Regions from separate parts of the Homo sapiens genome. Here region 2 is linked to region 1. Evidence: promoter capture Hi-C in 16 types of primary human blood cells and fetal thymus (Javierre and others, 2016). All regions are on one chromosome and are shown on one strand. The core of a region is centred on a gene start or on the middle of the fragment in contact, and the rest is flanking DNA. Distances in the headings are between cores, read along the strand shown.

Region 1 (7,687 bases), core at 2,203-4,702:
AATAACCATCTATTTTACCATAACTCATGGTGAAATAATTAAAAGTGAATAAAACTTATGTTAACAACCAGTTACAGACCAAAATTGTGTACATCATTTTTAATGTTTCAAAAATAATGATTTTATAGTAACTATAGCTCACCACATCCTTATATAAATCTTTTTGATTTGATGTCCTAACACAAATGTACAAACACTGACCACTCAAAGTTGGAGGGTGGGGGAAAAAGAACAGCCCCTTTATAGAATCTGAACCATTTGCTGTCCACTTACGTAGCAGATAAGTTAGAGAAAAACCTTGAATTCCTTCTCTTACCCCAACTAATGATTTAGGCAGTGAGAGTGACCTTCAAATGCACACTCTTTAGCAAAGACAAGATAGGCAGCATTGTGCTTGACAAATATATGCTATTTTTCCAATTGAATAGTCCTTATTCTAAAGTATCCAATGCTAAAATCAAAACTGAACCCCAAGCAGCAAGTTGCAATATTCTGACACTATGACATCATTCTGTCTGGAGCACTTTAATATAACAATTTGAATAAATTGGCAGAAGCGTAAATAGGTCACACTGAAGCCCAAAACTAAGGCTATTTATCTGGCAAAAATATTCTGGCTCTGCATTTAGCACCATTGCCTGTAGAATGACAGGCCAGTCATTCATCTGTGTGTCCCTTCCATCAGAATAAATGAAAATAATGGAAATCTTGTCACATTCATATGTTGCTACTACTACTGATAGTGGCTTTTATAGCCAATATTTACAGACAGGAGCAAATCAAAGCAAAGATGAATGTTATCACATGATTTCATGGATGCTTTGGCACATCCTTACACAGAAATTTGTTTTTAAAACCTCCATTTCTTCAGTTATAAAGATACTGAGTCTTGCCTCAACTAAACTTATAATTGGCCCCAGATATCTATGAAATAAAGTCATAATGTGTTCCAAACATTTACTAATAAATCCAGGACAGTGCTACTGCTTCAAAAAAAAGAATTATTAATTTTTGCAAAGCAGCAAGCTACATCTTAAATTTATTTTATAATCATACTTAGTAAGGTAGGATACTGACAGCTACAGTTTCTGAGTAAATCTCTGTAAGGTATTCAGATTGACTTCTCTGGATACTGACACCCATCATGATTTCTTCTTGTGAAATTATAGTTTGTCTGAAAGCAACATGCAGAAACCACAGAGGTTTCTGATACTCTCAGCCTCACCACCCCCAACATAAATTTTCCTTTCACAATAAACAATGTGCCATCGAAAGGTTTCCTGTTTCAAAATGGAATAGTAGATGAAAGAAACTGTTAACTCTCCCATTAACAACAAAAAAAGTTTCTTAATGAAGATGAATTCTCAAAGATGAAAATGGAAACTCCCTCAACTACTGCTTCTTCACTTAAGAACTAATCTGTTTCTTTCCCCAGTAAATATTTTCAGTATCATACCAGATGATTGTCATGAGTGGTCAAAGACTTAAATAACCTGCTGGTACTCTTTTGTTATCTAAGAGCAACACAACCTCACAGAAGACAGAACAAACACTTCCAAGCATTCTATGGCCATACACCAACAAAAAGCAGCCAATGGTAAAACTTTACATACTGAGTCATGTAGAGGAACTCTGAACCTTAAAGAGTAGAAAGGATGAAAGGTTAAAAAACAAAAAAGTCTTTGAATCCAACTTTTCAAAAAACACAGAGTTGAAGAAAAATGATGAATTGAAATCAAAAGATTGTTGCCATAACAATGGTTGGTATTAATTAACAGTATAAATAAATCTGGAGAAACCACAGACAAAGTGAATAGTGTTTCGCACAGGCAACGTCAGACAGAACTTACCACTTTGTCCATGAGCTTCCAAGTCTTCTCCACGGTCCTGCGATCTGCGGCAGCTTGCTTAGGGGGTCCAACTGCATCCTGAATAGCATCAATAATACCCAAAATTCGACCTTTTCGGGGATTTCCTCCTCGACCACCAGGGTTTCTGCCATTCATTGAGTTTGCCATCTGGAATTTTAGTTCTTTAAAAGGCAGATTTAAAAAAAGAAAAGTTAGTTGGTTTTGAAAATATTTACCCACCAGAAAACTAGAGACTAACTTGTACCACTGCATCTTCCTCCATCGATTAGAGCAAAACCAAAAGTTCCGGATTCATCTTTATCAATAAGCTTGTGAATTTACACTCTCAATCTTTACACACAGTAGTTTTAAGAGCAGTGATCCTAGATTTGCTTTTACAATACTAAGAGTTAAAGATGCATCCTGCTCACGTTTCAAGTAGCTAAGGCTGAACTAATACTCAACTCATAAAAAAAAAAAAAAGAACAAACAAAACTTAAACAGGTTTCCCCCACCTAGATAAAAACAGAATGTTCTTCCCCTCCTGCCTTAATTCCAATTCAAAATACCAGAACAACTGAAGGTCCTATCATACATTTTGGGAGCCTTACGCAGAAACTTCACTTTCACTCTGTTAGATTTCTCCAAGTTACATAAACATAAAGATTATCCTACACAAACGTAAGGGACAGCTCTGTTGTCAACAAAAGCGCAGGGCATGTCCCACACTAAAACCACCAAGTACGGACACACGAACACCTTTCTTTAAATCAACGCGGTGAGTCGTTATTCCCAAGAACCAAATGAAATTAACACACAAATAGCCCATTTGAAAAGAGAAAAGAGAAAAATGACAAGAGCGGCCACGGAAAGGAGGAGTTCACTTCTCTGGCTCCTCGCCTCTGCCCTCAACCCAAAGCTTTGTTTCAGGACGCCTGTGTCCCTTCCCTGCTCAGGCCCCTTCCCGGCCCCTCGGGTCTGAGCTGCAGGAGGAAGGTGGACTGGGAGGGGACAAAGTGTCCCTCCCGTGCCCGCAGCACCGTCCGTCTAGGGCGCGGGAGGGACACTGTGGGCTCGGCGCCTGGGTGGACGCGCCTCCCGGCCGCCTGCTGCAGTCCTCACCGCCGTCTGCCTGGACGCCCTCTCCCTCCTCCCCGGCCTGCGGGTTCTGGTCTTTAAATGCCCCACTTCAAACTGGACGGCGGCGGCAAAGGCAGCTGAGAGCCAGGGCTGTCCCCTCTTCCTCCTTGGCCCGCGCCTGGCTACCCCGGGCCCCCGGGCCGGCAAGAAGTGTGGAGCCTCCCCGGCGACCCCTTCCCTTCTTGCCTTTCGGCGCCGTAGCTGTCCAGAGACACGCGTGTGCGCGGGTCCCACTCCACACGCACGCAGCCCAGTGTGTGTGGGGAGCCCCGGCTGGGAGTGGGATCGCTGAGAACAGCTCGCTCCCGAAGAAGGAGCAACCCAGCGCGCAGGCCTCCGAGACGTGGAAACGCAACAATTACCGTCAAGACAAATCCACACCCGCTCTCCCCTCCCGCCCGACTCGGGGAGGCCGCGGGACGCCGCAGCAGCACTAGCAGGAGGAGGAGACCGCTCGCTGGACACCCCACCCCTGTGGCACACACAGGACCCAGGCTCGGGGCGGGGCGGGGCGGGGGCGGGGCCGGGCGCCGCTGAGCCAATGCCGCGCAACCGCGCACTGCCCGACAGCGGGTGCAGCCAATGGACGGGAGGCGCCCGTCCTCCTCGCGCTGCCGCCCCGTCCACGTCCTCCACAGTACACAATGGCCCCAGAGGAAGGCCCGCTCGCAGCACGTCAGAAAGGAATTGGACTCGGAGAGAAATGAGGGGCCTGGACTCTCCCGGGAACGAAAGTGGAAACGGGAAAGGAAATGGACGAAGGGATGCAAGGCACGAAGGAGCTAACCAATAAGGGGTGGCAGGTGGGCGTGAGCGTCGGGACCGGGAGCCAAAGCCATCTGGGGCTGAAAGGCGGGACTTCCTGCTTCGCTTACCTTCCTAGTCTTTTGTTTCATAGCAACAGAGTAGTGGCTGGAAGGGTGTTGCTTCTCCGCTCTGGGCGGGTCCAACGCTGGAGAAATTCATCTCCCTAGGGCTGCCAAACCCTTCTACCCAGGACAGCAGCCAAACAGGTCTATGACGTTGCTTCTTGTTGGCTATCAAAAAGAGCAACAGCCACTGAGCTTCTAAAATGCAGAATAAATCTCACAGAGAGTAGGCTGGGGTGACATCTGAATGCCAACTGAAACTTCCCAAGTTTCCGAGTTTCTCTTTTGCTGTTAGTTTTAGAGGGATTGCAGACCAAACATCAGGCTGATGAAAAAGCAAATAGTTGACAACGCTGGCCAAACAGTCTCTGCTAATCATGCCAAAGCAATAAAAGTACCAGATAATGGGAATTGCTGATAAATACCTTGCACCTTTTTACTTAGTGCAAGTTTCTGCCTAAATGACTGAGGAGGAGACAGCTACTGTGTTTTGTCGGAGTCACCTTTACATAGATTTCTATCCATTTAAAAACAACCTTACTGTAGCTGCCATTCTCTACCAGCATTGTTACCTCTTTCTGTGGCTCCCTTCTTTGTGCTCTTAAAAAGGCCGACATCTGGCTAGTCTTTAAAGGAGAAAGCTACTGTGCTGGGACTTGTCTTTCAGCAATATCATAGGTTAAACAAATGCCTTCCATTTATTTCAGTTTACTTCAATCCCACCACTCATGCTACCAACAATTGCTCTGGACTTCATACTTTGGAACTTTCTTTCCACTACAGTTGATAGCGTTTATTACACTTTTCAGCTTGGACATCTCAGATGTTCTGATATTTTACATTGGGTTTTTTGTTTTTGATTTTGTTTTTTCAAATCTTGCTCTAACCACGTAACCTGATAAAATGTTTCTCAATGGTTCTAACCACTTTCTAGCAACTAAGAATTTTAATACTGTAATTATTACTATGAAGGATCCTGAGTTTTCCTTTACAGCCTTGAATTTACATGGTTAAGATTTTAATTTGACGAAAACAGAAAAAAAATGTGCCTTTGCAACCAGTCAGGTGATAAAGTGTGATTCAGGAAGTAATTTTGTTTCCTTGTCATTATTTCTGTGCCAGTAATTAAAGAGTAGTTCCTTGTTTTCACATTGCATTTATCTACAAAAGTGCTGGCCTCTCCATATCTCCTCCACCCATCCATATCTCTTTTACTCATAGTCGTAGTAGCTACATTTACTAAGGGGAGACTGTAAAAGAAAAAAACTGTGTTACCTTTAAAATAAATTTTAAAAGAATTAATGTGTAGAAGCATGTAGCAAAACAGTGGCTTAAGGGAACATTATAACTAAGTATATTACTTATATTCATATCTGGATAAATGTAAAATACCCAAAATACATGTTATAGCATGTGCCATTCCTTTTATATGGTGTTTTGCAACTGAAAGAGATGAGTTAATGAGAAAATGGCATTGCCTATGGTATCAAGCATATCATGTTGATATAAATTACAAGTTTTGAGGTGTATGGTTTGACGTATTTTGAAATATATGTATGTGAGATACGGTAGCATCCCTTACCACTTATTTGCCATCTCACTTTCCTTGGTTCTAGTTACCTGTGGACAACCAGGGTTTGAAAATAGGTGAGTATAGTACAAAAAGATATTTTGAGAGAGAGAAAAATACCACATTTATATAACTTGTATTACAGCATATTGTTATTATTTTATTAATAGTTATTGTTATTAATCTCTTACTGTGACTACTTCATAAACTTATCATAGGTATGTATGTATTGGAATACTCATAGTATATATAGCGTTCAGTATTTTCTGAGATTTCAAGCATGCACTGTGGGTTTGAGCATATCCTGTGGATGAAGGGAACTGCTGTATGTACATATGTACGCATGTGTGTGTGTGTGTGTGTGTGTGGTCAAGAAATTATAGCTTATCATCAACTAGCTATTTTATCAAGCAATCTGGAATCCAGGTTAAGTTCTGGTGTAGCAGGGTTCCCAGTTGAGCTGAAACTCGGATTCAGTTTGGTTTTCTCTCATAAACTGATGGAGCAGTAGAAGTCCTCCCTGCCAATTATTAGAAAAAGTAAATGTGCACGGGGAATAAATAACTGCTGGGATAAAACTTCAAACCCCGGGTGCCTCCAGTAGAGACACAAGAGATAAAGCACAATAAAAGATGCATGCTTCAGGACTATAAATAAGAAGACAAAGAAATGTTTCCATAAGAGATTTTAGGACATAAGCAGTAGTACTTCAAGCTGACAGAGTTGGCTAGAGAAACAGTCACCTCATTTCTATAGAACAAGTCAGTCCCCAGTAGGGTGCAGTTTAAAGTGAATGCAGCATCAGTTAGCAGTGTGGGAAATTGTAACCTAGAAAGAACATGTATATGGCCTTATTACGGGACAGCAGTGTTCTACTGGAAGATCCTGACATAAGACAGAATGGTGGCGCTCCTACATGAAGGATCTTGTAAGCACAAGGGTGGCTAGTAAGTGAGTAATGTGAGCAAACCGGTCATAAGGACATGTGAGACCCTTCCCCCAGGTCTCCCAGAAAAGAGGGGGAGACTTCGTGGCAAGAATACTTAAGAAATTATGTAGAAACAGCTGTGAACCCGTGTAATTTGAGCATTACTGTTTGACATTAATATATGTACCAATAGGCTGGTGCCATCTAGAAAAATGCGGCTTAAATTCCAGTCTGTAAACACAAGACATTAAGGAAAAAAAAGACAATTATTTGAGGAAAATATTTAGACTTTTGTCATTTGCTTTAATTTTTCTTTTCTTCTATTTTTTCCAAATTCACAACTGACCCCTGTGATATTGGACATGAGTTGACTAAATAACAAAGCCCCTCCATAACTTATGTAACCCATAATAGCTCAAAAATATTAATTGAATAAATGAATTGACTGTTTAAGAGTATTACATACAAAATATAATGCTGTTCCTGTTTCTGCACAATGGAGAATTCATTTAATTCACAATTCCAAGCAAGATTTTATTTTTACTATTAAGTAGATTTACAGTGACGATCCTAACACAAAAACAGAATACCACAACAGAAATTTCTAATTTCTCATAGAGAACACGGACCCAAATCTCAGGTTAGAGAGAAATAAGAGCAATATGACCTCGTAATATTTGGGCATAACAAGTTGTTCTTTGTTACGTGAAATAGAGTTCCATTCATCATTAACCCATTACATTTAATAGTTGGCATTGAGGGATGCTGATCCAGGGGCTCATCAGATATAACCAGACTCTGAGTCCTAGCTTGGGCTCAACTAGAATGCTAGCTTAACAACAACAGTATTAACAACAAAAATAACAATGACTTAAATAAGATAAATCTCTCACACATAGAAAAAGGTCTGAAAGTAGGAATTACAGGTAGATATGGTGGCTCCACAATTTTCTCAAGGACCCAAGTTCCTATCTTTATTCTGTACCATCCCAGCCTTGCTTCCCACCTTCAGAATCACGTCGTGTTCCAAGATGGCTATTGGCTCTCCAGCCATCACCACTGATTTTCAGGCTAAAAGCTAAGAGGAAAGGCAGGAGGGCAAATGGATCTTCCATCTGAGTTAGTTTCCTTTGACCAATCTTCAGAGAACTCTCACAAGTATCTCTCTTAAACAACTCAAGGCCAGAATTTAGTCCCATAGCCAAATTTAGCTGCAAAATCTGGAAGGCAATATGTTTTTTATTATGGGAAGCAATATAAAAATTCTAGTTTGTTTCTAAAGAGAAAGGGATGAATAGATGTTGTAGCAAGAAACTGGCGAGTCCTACCA
Region 2 (6,627 bases), core at 1,506-4,005, 1.2 Mb after region 1:
AGAACCTGGAGATGACTCCTCTGGCAGATGGGGGGCTCTTTTCTAAGATGAGAAAGACTGGAAGAGAAAGAGTTGAAATCAAGAGCTCAGGAATTTTTTTTGTTTATTTGTTTGAGATGAAGTCTTGCTCTGTCACCCAGGCTGGAGTACAGTGGCACAATCTCAGCTCACTGCAGCCTTTGCCTCCCAGATTCAAATGATTCTCCTGCCTCAGCCTCCCGGGTAACTGGGACTAGAGGCACCCGCCACCATGACCAGCTAATTTTTGTATGTTTAGTAGAGAGGGGGTTTCACCATGTTGGCCAGGCTGGTCTTGAAATCCTGACCTCAAGTGATCCACCCGCCTTGGCCTCCCAAAATGCTGGGATTACAGGTGTGAGCCACCATGCCTGGCCAAGAGTTCAGTTCTGAAAGGTGATCTTAAGCATCCACCTTTGTGTATAATCAAAATATGACTTGACTAGCCTCACAATGGGAGACAATAATAGAACTCCCAGAATGCTTTAAAATCTGAGCAAAAAGAAAGCATATTATCTTCCTAGGAGGGGACTCCAAAGAGGGAATAACTCCTACAATTTCCCTCCCAATGCAGGATCCCCTGGTGTAGTTGCAACAGAGAAAAGTTTGTCAGAGAGCACCTGAGGCAGTCAAACAGACATCCTTTGCCCAGCCAGCAATAGCATGGGAGGGAAGCCCAATCTCTCTGGTCCCTAGAAGCACGCAGAACTTAGCTGAAAGGGAGTCCTTGAAGCGTCCTGGGGTCAGAACAAGGAACCTCCCTGCAGCAGAGCACTTTGCAGCCAGCCACCAAATGGTAACACTGACATCTCCGATGATGGTAGCAAGGAGTGATACCAAAGGCCAAACACCAGACTGAATGAGTGACATCTCAGTTAGTGAATGCATGTATGGAGAAAAGATAGCTTGGACCAGCATCAGGACATTGACAATGACGCTCACTTGGAGAAGAAGGCAGGGGAGTTAATTAATTAATCTAGTTAATTAATTCCTTTAACATCTAAAACAATAGAATGAAGGTGACTACATTTGTCAGGAAACTATTACAATTATGTATGTTGCCTTTAAGTAGACTATGGATTGATGAGTTTTGAAAAGTAGTTATATTTATTCAAACAGCTAGGTAAATTTACCTGCATATTTGTACTGAGTACAACAGTAAGGATTCATTGGCCTTTGTCCCTCAAACCCTTTCACAATCTTCTGGGAGGTTCTGCAAAGCATTTCACATGAACTCATGAACGACTCTACCAATGCCATTCAGCTCATTCAACAACTACCCCTAGTTGCATTACCAGGGTTGCTTCCCCTAAGAAGGGATCTCAAAGTAGGGCTGCTTGGACCTTGATATCTTATGATGACTTGAATCCAGTAACTTTTCACTTTGAGCTCTCAGACACAGACACATCCCCTCTGCCAAACACATCTACATCCACCATATGACTCAGCTACATGTCTAATAGAAGTTACGCTGAGAGGCTTGGCATGGTGGCTCATGCCTGTAATCCCAGCAATTTGGGAGGACGAAGGAAGCGGATCACTTAAGGTCAAGAGTTCAAGACCAGCCTGGCCAACATGGTGAAACCCCATCTCTACTAAAAATACAAAAATTAGCCAGATGTGGTGGCAGGTGCCTGTCATCCCAGCTACTTGGGAGGCTGAGGCAGGAGAATTGCTTTAACCTGGGAGGCAGAGGCTGCAGTGAGCTGAGATTGCACCATTGCACTCCAGCCTTGTATGCTCTTGCACTCAAACAAGAAATCTTCATTACTGGATGAAAATCAAATTCCTTTGAGAATAAATTATCTCACCAAGAAGACCATTGGTCTCTCTAGAAAGAAACTTCTAGCAGGCATACCAGCATATCTGTTATGCTTATTTGTCTAAGTCTCTTTGACTCAAGCTAGACCCCAACCACTCAAATAACTGACAAAAGTCTTAGAAATTGTCGCCCAGGTACGAAGAAGCTGAGCACCTGGTTAGGCTTTTGGAAAAAGAATTTTGATGCAACTGGGTTCTTATGGTGACTGTCCCTTCACAGATTTTTTTAATGCAAGTGTCACCAAACCCATTATAAAGACAACCAGTGACCATAATGACATGTTTATGCAGTGTTGCCAACCACTGACTCTTGAATAACCAGATGGGCTCTGTACTGAGGTTCTCCTCTTCTTCCTCCTTTTTATCCTTCTTTTTTTGCCTGTAACTCCAGGGTAGAATTTAGGTGGTAGCTTACATATCATTTCTTCTTTCATTCATTTACTCAGAAAATATTTAAGGAGGGCCTCTTAAGTGCCAAGCTTTGGTTCTAGGTTGCTTGCAAAACATCAGTAAAAAAGACAAAAAGGTCATTGAGCTGATATTCTAAAGGGGGTGGATGAAGGAAAATAGACAATACAAAAATCATTTGCTATGGTTAAAATAATCCAGAGTGATTGGATAAAGAACACCTAGGGGAGTAGCATAGTTCTTTCTGTAGTCTTAGCAGAATCTAACTTCAAAATCAGAACTATTATGCCTCCAGACTTAGCCAATTATTTGCATCATCCTACCCTTTGCAATTTTAGGTGACTGATCTATGTGGGGAATTGTAATATCATTAATAGTTATTCATTTTAAACTCTAAACTCACCACTGCCATGAGACCAATTTAACAGCATGGTATACGTAACGGTACAGTGGGTGAGAAGGGGTACAGGCTTCAAAGTCAAGTACAGGAGGGCTCCAGTCCCTCATCTGCATCTTGCTATCTTGGTGCCCTTGGGCAAGTCACTTGATTTCATGAAACCTCATTTTACTTATCTGCAAGATCACGGTAGGAACACTTAACTCGAAGTTTTGTTATACAGAGCAAAATGATAATAAAATTAAATCACATATGTTTACTTGTTTTGATTGAAGAATCTAAACTCATTAAACTATAAACATGGAATTATTTTCCCATCTTCCCAAATAATACCTATCAAATGTCTCCTTTCACCTTCTTTTTACCTAGGTACAAGCTCCTTATAGATCTCTCACCTCATTCTTATGACATTTCTTCAGTTTGGGTTAAGATTTTCTTATATTTATTTAAACACCTCCCTCTTCCACAAAAGCAGGACACACTACTGACTAGAAGTGTTTGAGGGTAGGGAGGAAGGGGTGTGTTCTCCAGAGAAAGCACTCTCCATCGAAGCTTCAGCAGCAGTGAGAGGAGGCAGGGAGAGAAATAGTTACTGGAGCAACCACGATGGTGGGTGACAGGCCCACCATTCTCTTTCTTTAGGTTGTTGCTATTTTCTCTGTTGAACATTGACTACTTGGCAATTTCACCTTTGAGAGAGTTATCCAAGCATTGGCTCTTTGTACGTTCTTGGAGGGCCTTTTTGGCCTCTCCCACTGCATGTCCCTTGGCTAGGAGACCAGGTTATAGCTAAGGCTATTCCTTCTTGCCTTAACACCAGCTGGAGCAGAAAGGTATCTACAGTACTGCCTAAATCACAGCCACAATTAGTGGTGTTTTTCCAACTCATAGGAAATTCCCATGTTCTTACTAAATATAGGGTTTAAAGCTGAGCCCCTGACATTCCACTCACACCTCTGACATCTCTCTCCTGCCCTTTTATCCAAGCTCAGAATTACCAGATAGTAGGTTAGCTCATGGTTCAGCAGCTTTCAGAAAGGAGAAGGTCATGAGCTGTAGACCTTTTGGAAAGGAAATAATTCAGGCATTCACTACCAACACCCACTCAGAATTCATACATTGAAATCCTAACCACTAATGTGATGGTATTAGGAAGCAGAGCCTTTGGGAAGTGATTGGTCATGAGAGTGCAGCCTCCATGAATGAAACAAGTGCCCTTACAAAAGAGACCAGGGAGAGCTCTCTCACCCTCCTTCCATCATGTGCACATACAAAGAAGTCAGCAGTCTAGACCCCGGAAGAGGGCCTCCACCAGATACTGATCATGTTGCCACCCTGATCTCAAACTTCCAGCCTCTAGAACTGTGAAAAATAAATAAGCCACCTAGTCTATGGTATTTTGTTATAGCAACTCAAACTGACTCAGAGATCTACTTAATACACCAATGTCAAAATCTATTTCTGAGGCTTAAGACACATCTCACCACTCCTAACATTAATGTCAAAATCCTTATACCAGGGCCTGTCAGTCACCACAGAATCTGATCCAGACCACAACTCCAGCTCTGTCCCATGCCATTCCCACCCCTTGCTGCCTGTATTCCTGCCCCACTATCTTCTTTAAGATCATCAAACTGCCAGGCTACTCTTCATCTCAGTATAAAAATAGACAAAGAGTCTTCAAGACAGAATTCTGAGGAACACCAATATTTTACTGTAGATTAAAAGAAGGAGAAGACAGTAAAGAAAACAGAAGTATCCAGTGAAGTAGAAAAAAAAAAACAGAAAATATGTTATGGCAGAAGCAAAATAACGAATGCATTTCTAAGTAAAATAAGTGGTTTACCTAATTAAATGCTGCTAAATGAAGCCCAAGAATTTGACCAGCTAGAAGAGACTGGAGACCTTGAAATAAATGTTCTGGTAGAGAGATGAGGTCAGAAGGTAGATTGAAGTACCATAAAGATGAGTGGGAGGGAAAGAATGAGATAATCTTATTTGATAGCAGGAGTAATATTTATTAGCACTTAAATTATTTTAATTTAAAGTGGCTTTAACTCTTTGCCAAGCACTATGCTAAGCACTTTGCAAGCATTTTCTCATTAAGTCCTCACTTAACACTATTTGGCAAGGAAACTAAAATTTAGAGGGACTAAATAAATTGCACAACCACACAGCTAAAAAGCTGTGGGAGACTGAATAATGGCCCCCAAATATATCCAGGTCCTAATCCCTGGAACTCGTAGTGTTACTTTATATTAAAAAAAAAAAAAAGGCTTTACCGATGTGATTAAGGATCTTGAAATGGAAACATTAACTTGGGTTATCAAGGTGGGCCCTAAATATGCTCAAAAGTGTCCCAAGAGGGAGGCAGAAGGAGATTTGACACAAAAGAGAGAAGACAATGTCATGGCCTCAGCAGAGAGGGAGATTTGAAGATGCTACAGTGCTGGCTTTGAAGGATGGGGTGGGGAGCAAAAGAATGCAAGGAATGCAATTCTAAAAGTTGGAAAAGGCGAGGAAACAGATACACTTAGAGCCTTCATAGGGAGGACAGCTCTGAAATTAAGATATCTTAACTTCAGCCCAGGAAATGGGTTTCAGAATTCTGACCTCCAGAACTAAAAAATAATAAATGCCTGTTGCTTTAAGCCACCAAATTTGGATTATTTGTTACAGAAACCACTGGAAACTAATATAGAAGTGATCATAATTCGATCTCCAATATAGTTCTACAACAAATCTAAGGGTCACACATATGGAAGGAAAACACAGAAAGGGCAGGAGGAAAAAGAAAGAGATAGAGAAGAATACAGAACAGAGAATTGAAGGGAAGAGGAAGAGAGGGGAGGGGAAAAAGTGTGAGGAGTTGCGAACAGGAGCAGAGAGAATAAGACCCCAAACATTGTTAAAGTCCATGGCAACTTCATCTTAAGGACTATTATCCCCACCTGAGTCAGAATGAGTTGGCATTGGCCCATAGCTACAAGTTATCTCCAGGGGGTAAAATTCCAGTGCAGAATAACCTATAAATACTGTGGCATCGCAGCTAGAGAGAAAACAGATTGATGTAGTCCTAGTTTGGAGGTCAATTGGCTCAGTAACTGTTAGAAGCAGCCAACAGTTAAAGACACAAATATTACACGGTTGGAGATAAAGTTCCAAAAAGAACAAATTGATTCATTTTGTACCACGAACTCAACTCAAAGTAAAGCCCTACTTCGCTTTTTAAGATATATTTTGTAAGGTTTTCATTTTTTGTTTTATGTTATTATCCTGTTATGACTTATTAATGGCTATCATTTGCTATAGTGAAATCGTATTGAGACTTTTCACTCAAATGCTCTAAATAATTAATCTATTTTCAAGAACGCTTTATAAATGCATTGTTATTTAATTATCTTATTTAATTTCATGTTTAAATAATGCTCTGGTATATATGAATCAATGGCCACATCTTAAAAGACATACCTGTATCCAATATTCAATAAAAGAAAAGGAAATTTAGCAGGAAAATGAATGATTTGTGTGTCTAACACCACCATTTAAACAACCTGAAACTCACGGCAACATTTGTCCCTTAGGTTCAAGGATGTATCCGAGGGTAGTCATGAAAATTCAATTCTTAACGCTGACTTGCTGTGCTCTCACAGGATTCTTTTCCTAGTTAGAGTTACAACATTTTTCCTTAGGAAATGAGACAATGCATTTTGAAGTTCTCTAAGGTTAGGAAGAGATTAGGGAAGAAACATTTGCAGTCCATATATAGATTCTAAATACCCATAGAATGATGATTTTCCTAATTTTCTAACAAATATTTCTTATATTATGGAGCTAAAAGCTACATTTTTAAGGGAGAATTGAGAATAAGGAGAAATGGTAAGGTACATTTGTGGGAAGAAACGCATTTAATTCAGTCTCTCCCTTTCAAAAACAGAAAGGGAAACAGCAATCAACACAACATATGGAGTATCTGTTTTTCG

The links. The method cuts DNA at HindIII sites, captures the fragments that hold promoters and counts their contacts. A CHiCAGO score of 5 or more calls a contact.
Region 2: a contact is called between a fragment that was not itself captured here and the fragment with the promoter of CBLB in region 1, in 1 of 17 cell types (fetal thymus). The highest score is 6.1, in fetal thymus.

Annotation. Positions count from the first base shown.
Region 1 is chr3:105,865,560-105,873,246 of GRCh38, forward strand. It overlaps CBLB (Cbl proto-oncogene B), which reads right to left and starts at 3,453. Exons shown (of 19, transcript NM_170662.5): 1 at 3,177-3,453; 2 at 1,851-2,032. The coding sequence starts at 2,018. RefSeq lists enhancers at 1,325-1,374, 1,405-1,454, 1,575-1,664 and a silencer at 3,422-3,651. The HindIII fragment of the contact is 9,979 bases long and covers 2,768-7,687 here.
Region 2 is chr3:107,057,876-107,064,502 of GRCh38, forward strand. No RefSeq gene overlaps it. Among named protein-coding and RNA genes, the nearest start is that of LINC00882, 180 kb to the right of the region's middle. The HindIII fragment of the contact is 878 bases long and covers 2,317-3,194 here.